3 separate regions of the Homo sapiens genome follow, and all the other regions are linked to region 3. Evidence: promoter capture Hi-C in human tissues and cell types (Jung and others, 2019). All regions are on one chromosome and are shown on one strand. The core of a region is centred on a gene start or on the middle of the fragment in contact, and the rest is flanking DNA. Distances in the headings are between cores, read along the strand shown. Region 1 overlaps CERT1 (ceramide transporter 1). Region 2 overlaps LOC124901007 (a long non-coding RNA gene). Region 3 holds the start of HMGCR (3-hydroxy-3-methylglutaryl-CoA reductase).

The links. Contacts are between HindIII fragments. The study calls those that stand out against the background at their distance.
Region 1: a fragment that was not itself captured here is called in contact with the fragment with the promoter of HMGCR in region 3 in 1 of the 25 tissues and cell types used here (hippocampus).
Region 2: a fragment that was not itself captured here is called in contact with the fragment with the promoter of HMGCR in region 3 in 1 of the 25 tissues and cell types used here (adrenal gland).

Annotation. Positions count from the first base shown.
Region 1 is chr5:75,374,924-75,379,064 of GRCh38, forward strand. It overlaps CERT1 (ceramide transporter 1), which reads right to left. Exons shown (of 17, transcript NM_001379029.1): 17 at 2,852-4,141. It also overlaps the pseudogene RPS26P26. Among named protein-coding and RNA genes, the nearest start is that of HMGCR, 40 kb to the left of the region's middle. The HindIII fragment of the contact is 9,528 bases long and covers 1-4,141 here.
Region 2 is chr5:75,285,942-75,290,409 of GRCh38, forward strand. All of the region lies in intron 1 of LOC124901007 (a long non-coding RNA gene), which reads right to left. Among named protein-coding and RNA genes, the nearest start is that of HMGCR, 49 kb to the right of the region's middle. The HindIII fragment of the contact is 4,212 bases long and covers 1-4,022 here.
Region 3 is chr5:75,334,470-75,339,138 of GRCh38, forward strand. It overlaps HMGCR (3-hydroxy-3-methylglutaryl-CoA reductase), which reads left to right and starts at 2,751. Exons shown (of 20, transcript NM_000859.3): 1 at 2,751-2,831. RefSeq lists enhancers at 2,662-3,222, 3,223-3,781 and a silencer at 2,863-2,982. The HindIII fragment of the contact is 13,606 bases long and covers 1-4,669 here.

The DNA of each region.
Region 1 (4,141 bases), core at 1,037-3,536, 40 kb after region 3:
TGTGTGTGTTAGACCAAGTGTGAAGTGACACAGTGTATTTTCATGGAGAAGAAAGCTTATTCATGTAAATCAAATCTTAATTGTTTGCAGTCACATCCTTGGCCTCACAATTTGCATAGTTGTGTAAAATAAAGGGGGCACAGGCACCTGAAAAAAAAAGGGCAATATAGGTGAGCAGAGGTAATCAGTGAAAGGTCTCTGGATTTTTACTCCACAACATGGCATTTCTTTCCTCTTAGCCTGCAATAAAAATTATGACATACAATACTACTTACCAAGAATTTAAAAAATGTATTCAAGCTATGAGAGAGAGGCCTGCCTTATTTAATCAACAAACATGCTCAGACCTCTTTGTCAAATGAGTTTAAAAGTTTTTACTGGCGGGGCTAGGTGGCTCGCACCTGTAATCCCAGCACTTTGGGAGGTTGAGGCAGGCGGATTGCTTGAACTCAGGAGTTTGAGACCAGCTTGGGAAACATGGTGAAACCCCAACTCTACTAAAAGTATAAAAAATTAGCCGGGCATGGTGGTGTGTGCCTATAGTCCCAGCTACCCAGGGAGGTAGGAGGAACACCTGAGCTTGAGAAGTTGAGGCTGCAGTGAGCTGAGATCGCTCCAGTGTACTCCAACCTGGGCGACAGGAGTGAGATGCTGTCTCAAAATAAATAAATAAATAAATAAATAAATAAATAAATAAATAAATAAATAAAATAAATAAAAATATATATTATATATAATATATATATAAAGTTTTTACTGTTAAACAACTTTGGATCTTATTAACTCTTTACAGAACTTTCTCTAAAGATGATACACACATTATTGAATGTTACTATTTTTTTCCATCACCAAAATTAAGAATGTTCGCTTTCCTAGGGTTTCAATGCTGGGTTCGACTTCATACATTTATCTTCCATAATTATTGTAAAAAAAAAAAAAAAGTTACGTTACAGTAACAAAGATTTTACCATGTTAAGGTTTGAATTTGGATCTTTGTTAGAAAGAAGCTCAATCTGGACTCAAAAAGCCAAATCTGAGTTTGGGCCAATGAATCTTTTCAGCTGTATCTTTGCACACATATACATGTACCCACAAACAATAGACCTCTCTTCCCCAGAGATGAATTTTTTCAGATTCCAAGCTCCTCCCTCCCAGGTCCACAAATGAAAAATCTGTGAACATACACATGCACACACACAGAGAGTCAATGAAACACCGCTCTAAATCCAAGTCTAGAAGCAAATGCTGCTAATATCCTACCATTTATCTTTCAACTGTTTAAAAAATTATTCTTCTCAAATATAATTGAGAGCATGTTTTACACACAACTGCATTCAGATTTCTCTTGCTTTAATACAAAGTTGTATTTCTGCCTTGCTTGGTTGAATATCTGAGAACCTTTGGTAAGGAAGTCATCATAAAGCATCAAGAGGGAGGCCGTTTCAGTGAGGTCATAGTGAAGAAGAGAGAAGGCAGATATAGTTAGAGTGAAACAAAATCTGGTCTTGGATAGAGTGAAACAGCACCACTTTAAAAACCCTAGAGGCCATGGCAAAGAGACACACAGCGAAGCAGGGTGATAAGCCTGTTGCTGTCACGTGCCATCAGTTTTCTGGTTTATTTGATAAATATGGCACAGACTCAGAATCGATAAGAAGTAATGTGTCCAGATCTAGCTATAACAATTCTAAAGTACAAGATATAAAAATTGTCAGCACACTGAATGCAGTGCACTTGTGCTTGAAGAGAGAATCCCTAAAGGGTAAGGCTATATTCCAAAACACCAATCATTCAGGTAACTAAGACTGGAACCTATTTAATATTTTCAAATACCCTTTTTCCTGGGATAAAGCTAAACAACTGAGACATCAATGCAATATCCCTTATGTTAGTATGGGATATTAGTTAGTATCGGACAATAAATTTAGCTTTTGCATTTTTTAAAAGAAAGACATACTATAAACATCATTAGAAATCAGACTTGTTTAAAATTATTTCATTATATAATTGACTATTATTTTTAGCTAAAGAAAAGGACTCAAGAATATACATTTCTCAGTCAATTATTTAACATCCAGTGTAGGTGAGAATGAGAGAATATTCATGTTATTGCTTACCATTTGTGTATCACAATTGGCAATATCTACTAATATTTTAAATGTTATTACAAAATAGAATTTATAGAAATAGTACTATACAAAAGATTCTCAATGGACTAAAGCAGGCTTAAACTCAGTCATAAGAAGAGGAATACAATTAAAACTACACTGAGAGAGTATTTTTCACCTAATGAGTTGGGAAAGTTATAAAGTTTTGTTTTACACGTTGTATGAAAAACTGTGGGACACAGGGACTCCAATTCATTATTGCTGTTGAGATGGTCAATTACTATAACCTCTATGAAAAGTAGTATCTAAATTATGCACAAACCCCTAGCAGGGCCAGTAGTACCACATCTATTAATTTTCCCACATATAAACTTGCAAGTACAAAATGACATATGGATACAATTATGACACTGCTCTGGCAGAAATTGGAAACTGTAATATTCGCCAATGCAGAACTGATTAAATAAATTATGTACATCTATACAATGGGATACTGTATAACCATCAAAATGAGGAAGCTCCTTACAAATATGTGAGACCTTCAAGATAAAATAAATGCAAATATAAGATGTTGAACAGTGTTTATAGTATGCTGCTGCTTCTTTAACAACAAAAAAAGTGTATCTGTGTAGAAAATACACTTGTATTTGTTCATTCAAGCATTAAAAACTTTCTAGAAGAAACTAGTAATAGCATATGTTAATACTATATGGTGAATGCAAGACAGGGTAAATTTTACTGTATAACTTTTTCATACTTTTGACTTTATTTATTTATTTTTTGACAGACATTACCTGTCCAGGCTGGAGTGCAGTCGTGTAATCACAGCTCACTGCAGCCTCAAACTCCCAGACAAAGCGATCTTCCTGCTTCAGCCTCCCAAGTACCTAGGACTATACATGTATACCACCACGCCTAATTGTTTTTTGTCAAGATGGAATCTTGCTATGTTATCCAGGCTAGACTTGAACTCCTGGCCTCAAGCCATTCTCCCACCTCAGTCTCCCAAAAAGTGTTGGGATTACAGGTGTGACCCACTGCACCTGGCCACTTTTGGCTTTTAATCATGTTAACGTATCACTTACTTTAAAAAGTTAAAGATTTTGGGCTGAGTGCAGTGGCTCACGCCTGTAAACCCAGCATTTTGGGAGGCCCAGGAGAGCAGGTCACCTGAGGTAAGGAGTTCGAGACCAGCCTGGCCAACATGGTGAAACCCTGCCTCTACTAAAAATACAAAAATAGGCTGGGCGTGGTGATGGACGCCTGTAATCCCAGCTACTCGGGAGGCTGAGGCAGGAGAATCGCTTGAACCTGGGAGGCAGAGGTTGCAGTGAGCCAAGATTGCACCACTGCACTCCAGCCTGGGCAGCAAGAGAGAAACTTTGTCTCAACAACACCAAAATAAAGTTAAAGATTCTACCTCTTTGCATAAAGGTGTTCAGTGCTGTACTGGTTGACAGTAAAAATATGGAACCAACTCAGACATTAACATGGGACTAGTTAATAAATTCTGCAACATGCATGTAACAGATGTTAAAAGAATGAGATGTTTTACACATCTCATGTCTTATAAAGAAAGATAGTCAAGATACATTGTTAAGTGAAAAAAAGGTTATAAAACAAGAATTTTGTATAATAGTAAGTATAAACATTTTAACATTCAAAAATATGTCAGTACATACACAGAAAAATCTGGAGGAATATACAACAAAAATAACAGTTTCTGGGAAAGGAAAGAATACAGGAAGTTTGCACTTCTACAATTCTACAGTTCTATAATATCAAAATTTCTTTACATAAGCATTAGAAGAAAAAGGAAACAATAAAAGAATTAAGTTTTAAAGGCTATAAACTACAATTTTCAAGGCCAGGCACGGTGGCTCATGTCTGTAATCCCAGCACTTTGGGAGGCTGAGGCAGGAGGATTGTCTGAGGCCAGGAGTTCAAGACCAGCTTGGGTAACATAGCAAGACCCCTATCTCTACAAAAAATAAAAAATTAGCTGAGCATGGTGGCACATGCCTGTGGGGACT
Region 2 (4,468 bases), core at 667-3,166, 49 kb before region 3:
AAGGGATTCTGAGTGGAGGTTCCCCTGACTATTGACAAATCCCCTACTGGTGCTTGGTACCAACATGAGCTAACTTTATGGCTCAAACCAATAGGATAATTTGCTGAGGTCTGAGAGCACCTGCTCCAGAGAATTCCTGATCTCCCAAAATTTGGTTGAAATCTAAAGTTTATTTTGCTGTACAATTCTTTTTTTTTTTTCTCTTCCATGGTCATGGAAGGCAGGTAACTCCTTTATGAAGTTTGAGCTCACTTCCAAAGGGGAGATGAGGTTTTCTTTTGGTTTTTTTGTTTGTTTGTTTGTTTGTTTTTCCTGCTTCTAGGATGGTAGAGAGAGTCTTCAGCCTGAAATCCATCCCTCGGTAAGTAACCGAATTGAGGTTTGTCTTGGATAAAGCTAAGATTAACAACCAGCTGGTCTTAATTTCTCCTTACCATTAGAACACTCAGTAATCATGTAAGTTGTGCAATCATTTGTTTTGCTTAACATTTTTTCTTATTGTTGTTTGTTTCTGTTTCTGTTGTTGTTTCGGTCTTTTTCCCATTGGGTTTGATCAACTCTATCCAACCAGATCAAACCCAAAGGAAGTTCCAAATTATGAGGAAAGAGGCCTCTGAGGTGGCTAAATTCCCAAACACACACAAAAAAGGATAGTGTGGTGGGAGTAGAAAAATGGCCAGCAAAAGGATAAAAAGAGAGGAAAAAAATTTTTATTTTGACTGCTAAGGGGCTTTATTTACATAACAAGGCCATCTGTTTGCTAGCCAGGCCAAACTGAAGAGCAATGGCTGTACATCTGACATAGCAGCAATTTGTTCTAGCTGAAATATGGTAATGAGATTAAAAAACATCTTTTCGAAGGAGCTCAATGGTTAAAAGCTTAATTAAAAGCAAACATCCAAGGTGTGTGTGTGTGTGTGTGCACATATTTGTGTGTTTGTATTTAAAAGGCCTTCATGTTTTGTTTTTGTTTTTCTCCTAGGACCTCATCTTTTTTTTTTTTTTTTTTTTTTTTTTTTTTTTTTTAAGCAAAAGTTTTTCTTTCTCAGTTGACTGGACTTTTTTTGTTGTTGTTGTTGAGACAGAGTCTCTCTCTTGTTGCCTAGGTTGTAGTGCAATGGCGCGATCTCAGCTCACTGCAATCTCCATCTCCCGGGTTCAAGTGATTCTCCTGCCTCAGCCTCCCAAGTGGCTGGAACTACAGGTGCATGCCACCACACCCAGCTAATTTTTGGTATTTTTAGTAGAGACGGGGTTTCATTTTGTTAGCTAGGATGGTCTTGAGCTCCTGACCTGGTGATCCGCCGTCCTGACCTGGAGATCCACCCTGACCTGGTGATCCACCTGCCTGACCTGGAGCGCCTGACCTGGTGATCCGCTTTTGCTGTGCAGAAGCTCTTTACTTTAATCAGATTCCATTTGTCAATTTTGGCTTTTGTTGCAATTGCTTTTGGTGTTGTAGTCATGAAGTCTTTGCCCATGCCTGTGTCCTGAATGGTATTGCCTAGGTTTTCTTCTAGGGTTTTTATGGTTTTTAGGTCTTACATTTAAGTCTTTAATCCATCTTGAGTTAATTTTTGTATAAGGTGTAAGGAAGGGGTCCAGTTTCAGTTTTCTGCATATGGCTAGCCAGTTTTCCCAACACCACTTATTAAACAGGGAATCCTTTCCCCATTGCTTGTTTTTCTCAGGTTTGTCAAAGATCAGATGGTTGTACATGTGTGGCATTATTTCTGAGGCCTCTGTTCTGTTCCATTGGTCTATATATCTGTTTTGGTACCAGTACCATGCTGTTTTGGTTACTGTAGCCTTGTAGTATAGTTTGAAGTCAGGCAGCGTGATGCCTCCAGCTTTGTTCTTTTGGCTTAGGATTGTCTTGGCTATGCGTGCTCTTTTTTGGTTCCATATGAAATTTAAAGTAGTTTTTTCTAATTCTTTTTTTTTTTTTGAGACAGAGTCTCACACTGTCACCCGGGCTGGAGTGAGCTGGCATGATCTCAGCTCACTGCAACCTCCACCTCCCAGGTTCATGAGATTCTCTTGCCTCAGCCTCCCAAGTAGCTGGCATTACAGGTGCACACCACCATATCCGGCTAATTTTTTTGTATTTTTAGTAGAGACACAGTTTCACTATGTTGGCCAGACTGATCTTGAACCCCTGACCTCATAATCTGCCCGCCTTGGCCTCCCAAAGTGCTGGGATTACAGGGGTGAGCCACCGCACCCAGCCGTTTTTTGTAAATCTGTGAAGAAAGTCAATGGTAGTTTGATGGGGATAGCATTGAATCTATACATTACTTTGGGCAGTATGGCCACTTTCATGATATTGATTCTTCCTATCCATGAGCATGGAATGTTTTTCCATTTGTTTATATCCTCTCTTATTTCCTTGAGCAGTGATTTGTAGTTCTCCTTTAAGAGGTCCTTTACAACCATGGTAAGTTGTATTCCTAGGTATTTTATTCTCTTTGTAGCAATTGTGAATGGAAATTTACTCATGATTCGGCTCTCTATTATTGGTGTATAGGAATGCTTGTAATTTTTGCACATGGATTTTGTATCCTGAGACTTTGCCAAACTTGCTTACAGCTTAATAAGTTTTCGGGCTGAGACAATGGGGTTTTCTAAATATACAATTATGTCAGCTGCAAACAGAGATAATTTGACTTCCTCTCTTCCTACTTGAAAACTCTTTATTTCTTTCTCTTGCCTGATTGCCCTGGCCAGAACTCCCAATATTATGTTGAATATGAGTGGCAAGAGAGGGCATCTTTATCTTGTGCTGGTTTTCAAAGGGAATGCTTCCAGCTTTTGCCCATTCAGTATGATATTGGCTGTGGGTTTGTCAAATAGCTCTTATTATTTTGAGATATGTTCCATCAATACCTAGTTTATTGAGAGTTTTTATCATAAAGGGGAGTTGAATTTTATCAAAGGCCTTTTCTGCATCTATTGAGACAATCATGTGGTTTTTGTCATTGGTTCTGTTTATGTGATGGATTATGTTTATTGATTTGCATATGTTGAACCAGCCTTGCATCCCAGGGATGAAGCTGATTTGGTCATGGTAGATAAGCTTTTTCAAGTGCTGCTGGAATCAATTTGCCAGTATTTTATTGAGGATTTTTGCATTGATGTTCATCAGGGATATTGACCTGAAATTTTCTTTTTTTGTTGTGTCTCTGCCAAGTTTTTGTATCAGGATGATGCTGGCCTCATAAAATGAGTTATGAGGAATCCCTCTTTTTCCATTGTTTGGAATAGTTTCAGAAGGAATGGTACCAGCTCCTCTATGTACCTCTGGTAGAATTCGGCTGTGAATCCACCTGGCCCTGGGCTTTTTTGGTTGGTAGGATATTAATTACTTCCTCAATTTCAGAACTTGTTATTTGTCCATTCAGGGATTCAATTTATTCCTGGTTTAGTCTTGGGAGGGTGTATGTGTCCAGGAATTTATCCATTTCTTCTAGATTTTCTACTTTATTTGCATAGAAGTGTTTATATTATTCTTTAATGGTAGTTTGTATTTCTGTGGGATCAGTGGTGATATCCCCTTTAACATTTTTTATTGTGTCTGTTTGATTCTTCTCTCTTTCCTTCTTTATTAGTCTGGCTAGTGGTCTATCAATTTTGTTGATCTTTTCAAAAACCAGCTCCTGGATTCATTGATTTTTTGAAGCGTTTTTTGTGTCTCTATCTTCTTCAGTTCTGCTCTGCTCTTAGTTATTTCTTGTCTTCTGCTAGCTTTTGAATTTGTTTGCTCTTGCTTCTCTAGTTCTTTTAATTGTGATGTTAGGGTGTCAATTTTAGATCTTTCCCACTTTCTGATGTGGGCATTTAGTGGTATAAATTTCCCTCTAAACACTGCTTTAGCTGTGTCCCAGAGATTCTGTATGTAGTGTCTTTGTTCTCATTGGTTTCAAAGAATTAATTTTTTCTGCCTTAATTTTGTTATTTACCCAGTAGTCATTCAGCAGCAGGTTGTTCAGTTTCCATGTAATTGTGCAGTTTTGAGTGAGTTTCTTAATCCTGAGTTCTAATTTGATTGCACTGTTGTCTGAGAGGCTGTTTGTTATAATTTCCATTCTTTTGCATTTGCTGAGGAGTGTTTTGCTTCCAATTATGTGGTCAATCTTAGAATAAGTGCCATGTGGTTCTGAGAAGAATGTATATTCTGTTGATTTGGGGTGGAGAGTTCTGTAGAAGTCTATTAGGTCTGCTTGGTCCAGAGCTGAGTTCAAGTCCTGAATATCCTTGTTAATTTTCTGTCTCATTGATCTGTCTAATATTGGTAGTAGGGTGTTAAAGTCTCCCATTATTATTGTGTGAGAGTCTAAGTCTCTTTGTAGGTCTCTAAGAACTTGCTTTATGAATCTGGGTGCTCCTGTATCGGGTGCATATATATTTAGAACGGTTAGCTCTTCTTGTTGAATTGATCCCTTTACCATGATGTAATGGCCTTTGTCTT
Region 3 (4,669 bases), core at 1,501-4,000:
TAGCTCAGGGATTGTAAACGCACCAATCAGTGCCCTGACAAAACAGGCCACTCGGCTCTACCAATCAGCAGGATGTGGGTGGGGCCAGATAAGAGAATAAAAGCAGGCTGCCTGAGCCAGCATTGGCAACCAGCTCGGGTTCCCTTCCACACTGTGGAAGCTTGGTTTTTTTGCTCTTTGCAATAAATCTTGCTACTGCTCACTCTTTGGGTCCACGCTGCTTTTATGAGCTGTAACACTCACCACGAAGGTCTGCAGCTTCACTCCTGAGCCCAGCAAGACTAAGAGCCCACTGGGAGGAACGAAAAACTCCGGACGCGCTGCCTTAAGAGCTATAACACTCACCGCGAAGGTCTGCAGCTTCACTCCTGAGCCAGCGAGACCACGAACCCACCAGAAGAAAGAAACTCCGAACACATCTGAACATCACAAGGGACAGACTCCAGACGCGCCACCTTAAGAGCTGTTAACACTCACCGCGAGAGTCCACGGCTTCATTCTTGAAGTCAGTGAGACCAAGAACCCTCCAATTCCGGACCCATTACTGCACGCCCGCCTGGGCTCTGTCTCTAAAAATAAAAAAATTATACTTTTATAAACTCTTTCCTTGAAGGGTTAAATGCATATGAGGAAGCGGCACATGGACTTCCTTGGCGCTTCCCCCACCCTCCCTTTCTACCTTGTGTCCATACCAAATTTTGTGATTTATCACTAAGTACAAATTATTAGTTAAGTGCTATAAAGATTCTTTTGAAATACCTTTTGGGAAGGATATAGAATTTATTTTAAGAGCATAAAACTAGACAACTGGTGTTTCTTTATTGCTTGCTTTGGAACTCATATTCCTATTGGAGTTCCCAATTAGGCAGTTTGCGAATGAAAATTTCTAAATCTTGGGCTAAAGCCTGTTTTGGTAACAACTTTAGTCCTTATTTGAATTACATTAGTAGGCATGTGTACAACCTGTAACTTCTGAGATATTTGGTCCTTGAGACTTCTAGCGGCATTAAAAATATGACAGGTTCTAGGCTCTCGGTACTTACACACTTTTCTCTCTTTTTTTTTTTTTTTTTTGACAAGGCTGCTAAGAGAACACTGCAATCTTTGGGTAGTTCACCCGTTTTCTTTACTGTGCAAGGTTCATAAAGGCAGGCACTATGTCTGTCATGTTTGTCACTATATCTCCCATGCCAACCACAGTGTGTACTTCACATAATGAGCATTTCAAAGGCAACATTTGGTAAAGAGATATGAATGAAGGTCTTACACTGAAGCAGTGGGGAACAGTAGAACCAGCCTAAGCATTAGATCTGGGTTCAAATTCCAGTTTTGCTCATTATCTATGTGATCTACAGCAAGTTGCTTGACAAACTTTAATTTTTACTTTTTTGTAAAATGGGAATAATACCTATTATATAAGGATTATAAGAATCTATAATCATTTATTAAAACTAAGGAGTGTTTAGTGTTTTCTTCGTAATGTGTTTCAAAATATGGGCTTTAAAAATTGAGTGAAATACAATTCCTGTCCTTAATAAATTTCCACATACGATAGTAAGACAAATAAAAAAATACTACGGAAATTTTATGGGTTTTCAAGGTCGGGAGTGATGATGTGTTTGAGGGAATTAGGAAAGGAGGTGGCATATGAAAAAGTCCTTAAGGGATATTTAGGATCTCAGCAGTTAAAATGGGTAGGCATATCCAAGGTAAACAAAGAGAACATAAGCAGGGAGGTAAAAAGGTACTGAGTGTGACTGAAGAAGGGCCAGTTACTCCTGGCTGAACTGTAAGGTTCGCACAGGAAAGTAGAGATACGTCAGAAATGTGTGGTGGGGCCATATTAGTGGTGACAGGTTCTTTCTTTAATCCAGTAGACAATGAGAAACGCTGATTTGGGTCTATGGCATAATAGGAAGTAGTATGCCACATACTGCATGTGGGAGTTCTGCAGGACAGATTGGGAAGTGCATGCGTGTAAGACTGGGAAGACCAGTTAGGAGAGGCTATTGCACTGTTTTAAGTAAGACATAATAAAGCCCTGCACCAGGCGGAGAGCAGAAGGAACGCACAGAAGACGCAGGAGAGGCACATTTCAGAGAGAATCCAGTATGCAATGGATGTCGCACACAAGAGAGAGAGACGCAGGTGACCGGAGCCATTTACACTAATGGGTAAATCTCGGGAAAGCGCTGGTTTCGGCTACCGGCCAGTTACAGGTTTGAGGTGCCCGTCGCCGCCACCTTCCCTTTTTTTATATTCCTCTTTTTCTCATGGCCGCCTCCGCTTCCCTCCATCTCTCCCGCGCTAGTAACTGAGCTTTCAGTCATCGACCTGACCCTGCGTTTTCCCTCACGCTCCGATTCTGCTTCCTATCACTGCCTCCTACTGTACTATCACAGCCAGGACGAGCACGGGTCAGGCACTGAGGCTGTGGGACACTCCACCCGCCTGGTCCCCTATCGCCTCCGCCTAGGCAGCTGCCATGCGTGCGCCCCCACAGCTCTAGGACCAATAGGCAGGCCCTAGTGCTGGGACTCGAACGGCTATTGGTTGGCCGAGCCGTGGTGAGAGATGGTGCGGTGCCTGTTCTTGGCCCTGCAGAGAGCTGTGGGCGGTTGTTAAGGCGACCGTTCGTGACGTAGCGCCGTCAGGCCGAGCAGCCCCCAGGCGATTGGCTAGACAATCGAACGATCCTCTCTTATTGGTCGAAGGCTCGTCCAGCTCCGAGCGTGCGTAAGGTGAGGGCTCCTTCCGCTCCGCGACTGCGTTAACTGGAGCCAGGCTGAGCGTCGGCGCCGGGGTTCGGTGGCCTCTAGTGAGATCTGGAGGTGAGGCGGGCGGTGACCGAGAAGAGGGGCAGGGGCGGCGGGGAGCGGGGCGGAGATGGGTGGGAGCGGGGTTTGGGCTGTGTTGGTGGCAATTCTGGAGCTTCCCTCGGCCCTGGGAAGTGGCTACCGGCAGCTCCTGCGGACCTGGAGGGGGCTGCGGTTGCGCTTTGTCGGTGTGGCAGCTCGGACCCGCGGGGACTGCAAGGAATGTCCTTGAGGCCCGGCAGGCCGAGCGGCGGCCGGCATCAGTGCCGGAGTAACCCGGGGTCCCGGGGTGGGCTTGAGAGGCGGGCGGCGGTCTGGCCTCTTCGTGACTGCGGTCATCATCGGTGGACCCGCGGGGCGTAGCTGCGTTCATCGTCCCTGTTCAGTCAGAGTAGGCAGTGCTGGCTGCACGGTCACGAAAATCGGGGCGGAAAGGGTGTCAGGCAGGGTGACCTCGGAGGCCCCTGGATTCGAGAAATGCTAGGGGTCTATGGGGCTGTCGGGCCGGCAGCTCGCAGGGCAGACGGGAGAAGCGCCTGCATCCCGGGATCCGGGCATTCACGCCCAGGAACTGCTGTTCGTTAGCACCTTTCTTTTAGGTGACGGGAAAGATCTCTGTAAATACTGCTGACTAACTTAGAACCATGAAAGAACCGTGGATTGGTGTAGATGTGTCTGGTTATTTACAGGAGAACGGCTTGAGAGGATGCGGAGCCCAACGTGGGGATTCGCACAATGACTCAAAAGATTCTTCTCCCTCTTTTTTTTTTTTTTTTTTTGGTAAGGGGTGTAGTCTCCTTGGTGCTGATATTCTTTTAGGAAAAATGTACCTTGGAGATACAAATATAGAACAGTTAATTTCTGCAGTAGGAGGAGGTCGATGTACTCCATTCTTAAGTAGTCGTTTGAAATATTTCAGGATTTGAGGATATTCCTTCTTAGACATGGTCCTGCAGAGTCGTAGGAAGCATTTGTTTCTGGGCTATACTAAATGTGCATGATTTCGGCGTCCCACAAGGTAGAGAATGTACTTTTTGTTTACTTATGAATTTATTTTCCTCTCCATGCAGTGAAAGGCATTTTGCAATTTAGAGATAATCTAGCAAAGACCTGGACAGTACTTTGGGGATAGGCTGGATTTTGCAGGCCTGCTTTGTTGTAGTGTTCTTCCAGAACTTATGATAAACTTGGTGGCCAAAACAAATGGGAATTAGTAACATGAAGGTTAAACAAAATTGCACATAGGTTACAGCATTAACATGAAAATTGTCGGGTATGTGGGATAACCATTTCAAGATAAGAGTGTGAGTATGCGTGCATGCACACACTCTTTGTATTCCTTTATGGTCTAGTTTCTAGACTATAGATAGCCACATTATGGAATTACATGGTCTACTTAGGTTGACCCATGTGAAATTGCCAGTATTTAAAATTCAACTAACCTACAAAAATAGCAGTTTCATATGATTCCATTTAACACTTATCTTTGTCAGAGAACTTTGGAGCTCTAGCTTCATAAGTGAATGAAGAGAATAGATATGACTTAAAAAACAACATGTAATAGAATGTGAGCTAATTGGGTATAGAATCCAGATTTCCTGATTGCCAGTGCAAGATTCGTTTTTTTTTTTTTTTTTTTCCTTCTTTCTGGAATACCAGCTTGAGCAGCAGAATGCTAGATCTTGTTGGGATTGAAAATGACTGCCATATAAGACGCAGTTCTTGGCTTCAAAGAGACAAAATGTACACATTTATTAATTTGAGAACACTGTGAGATAGTATATAATCAAATACTGGAATGTGTAATGCAGGCGGAGTGCTGAGTAGGAGGAAGTAAGATGCCAAAACATCCT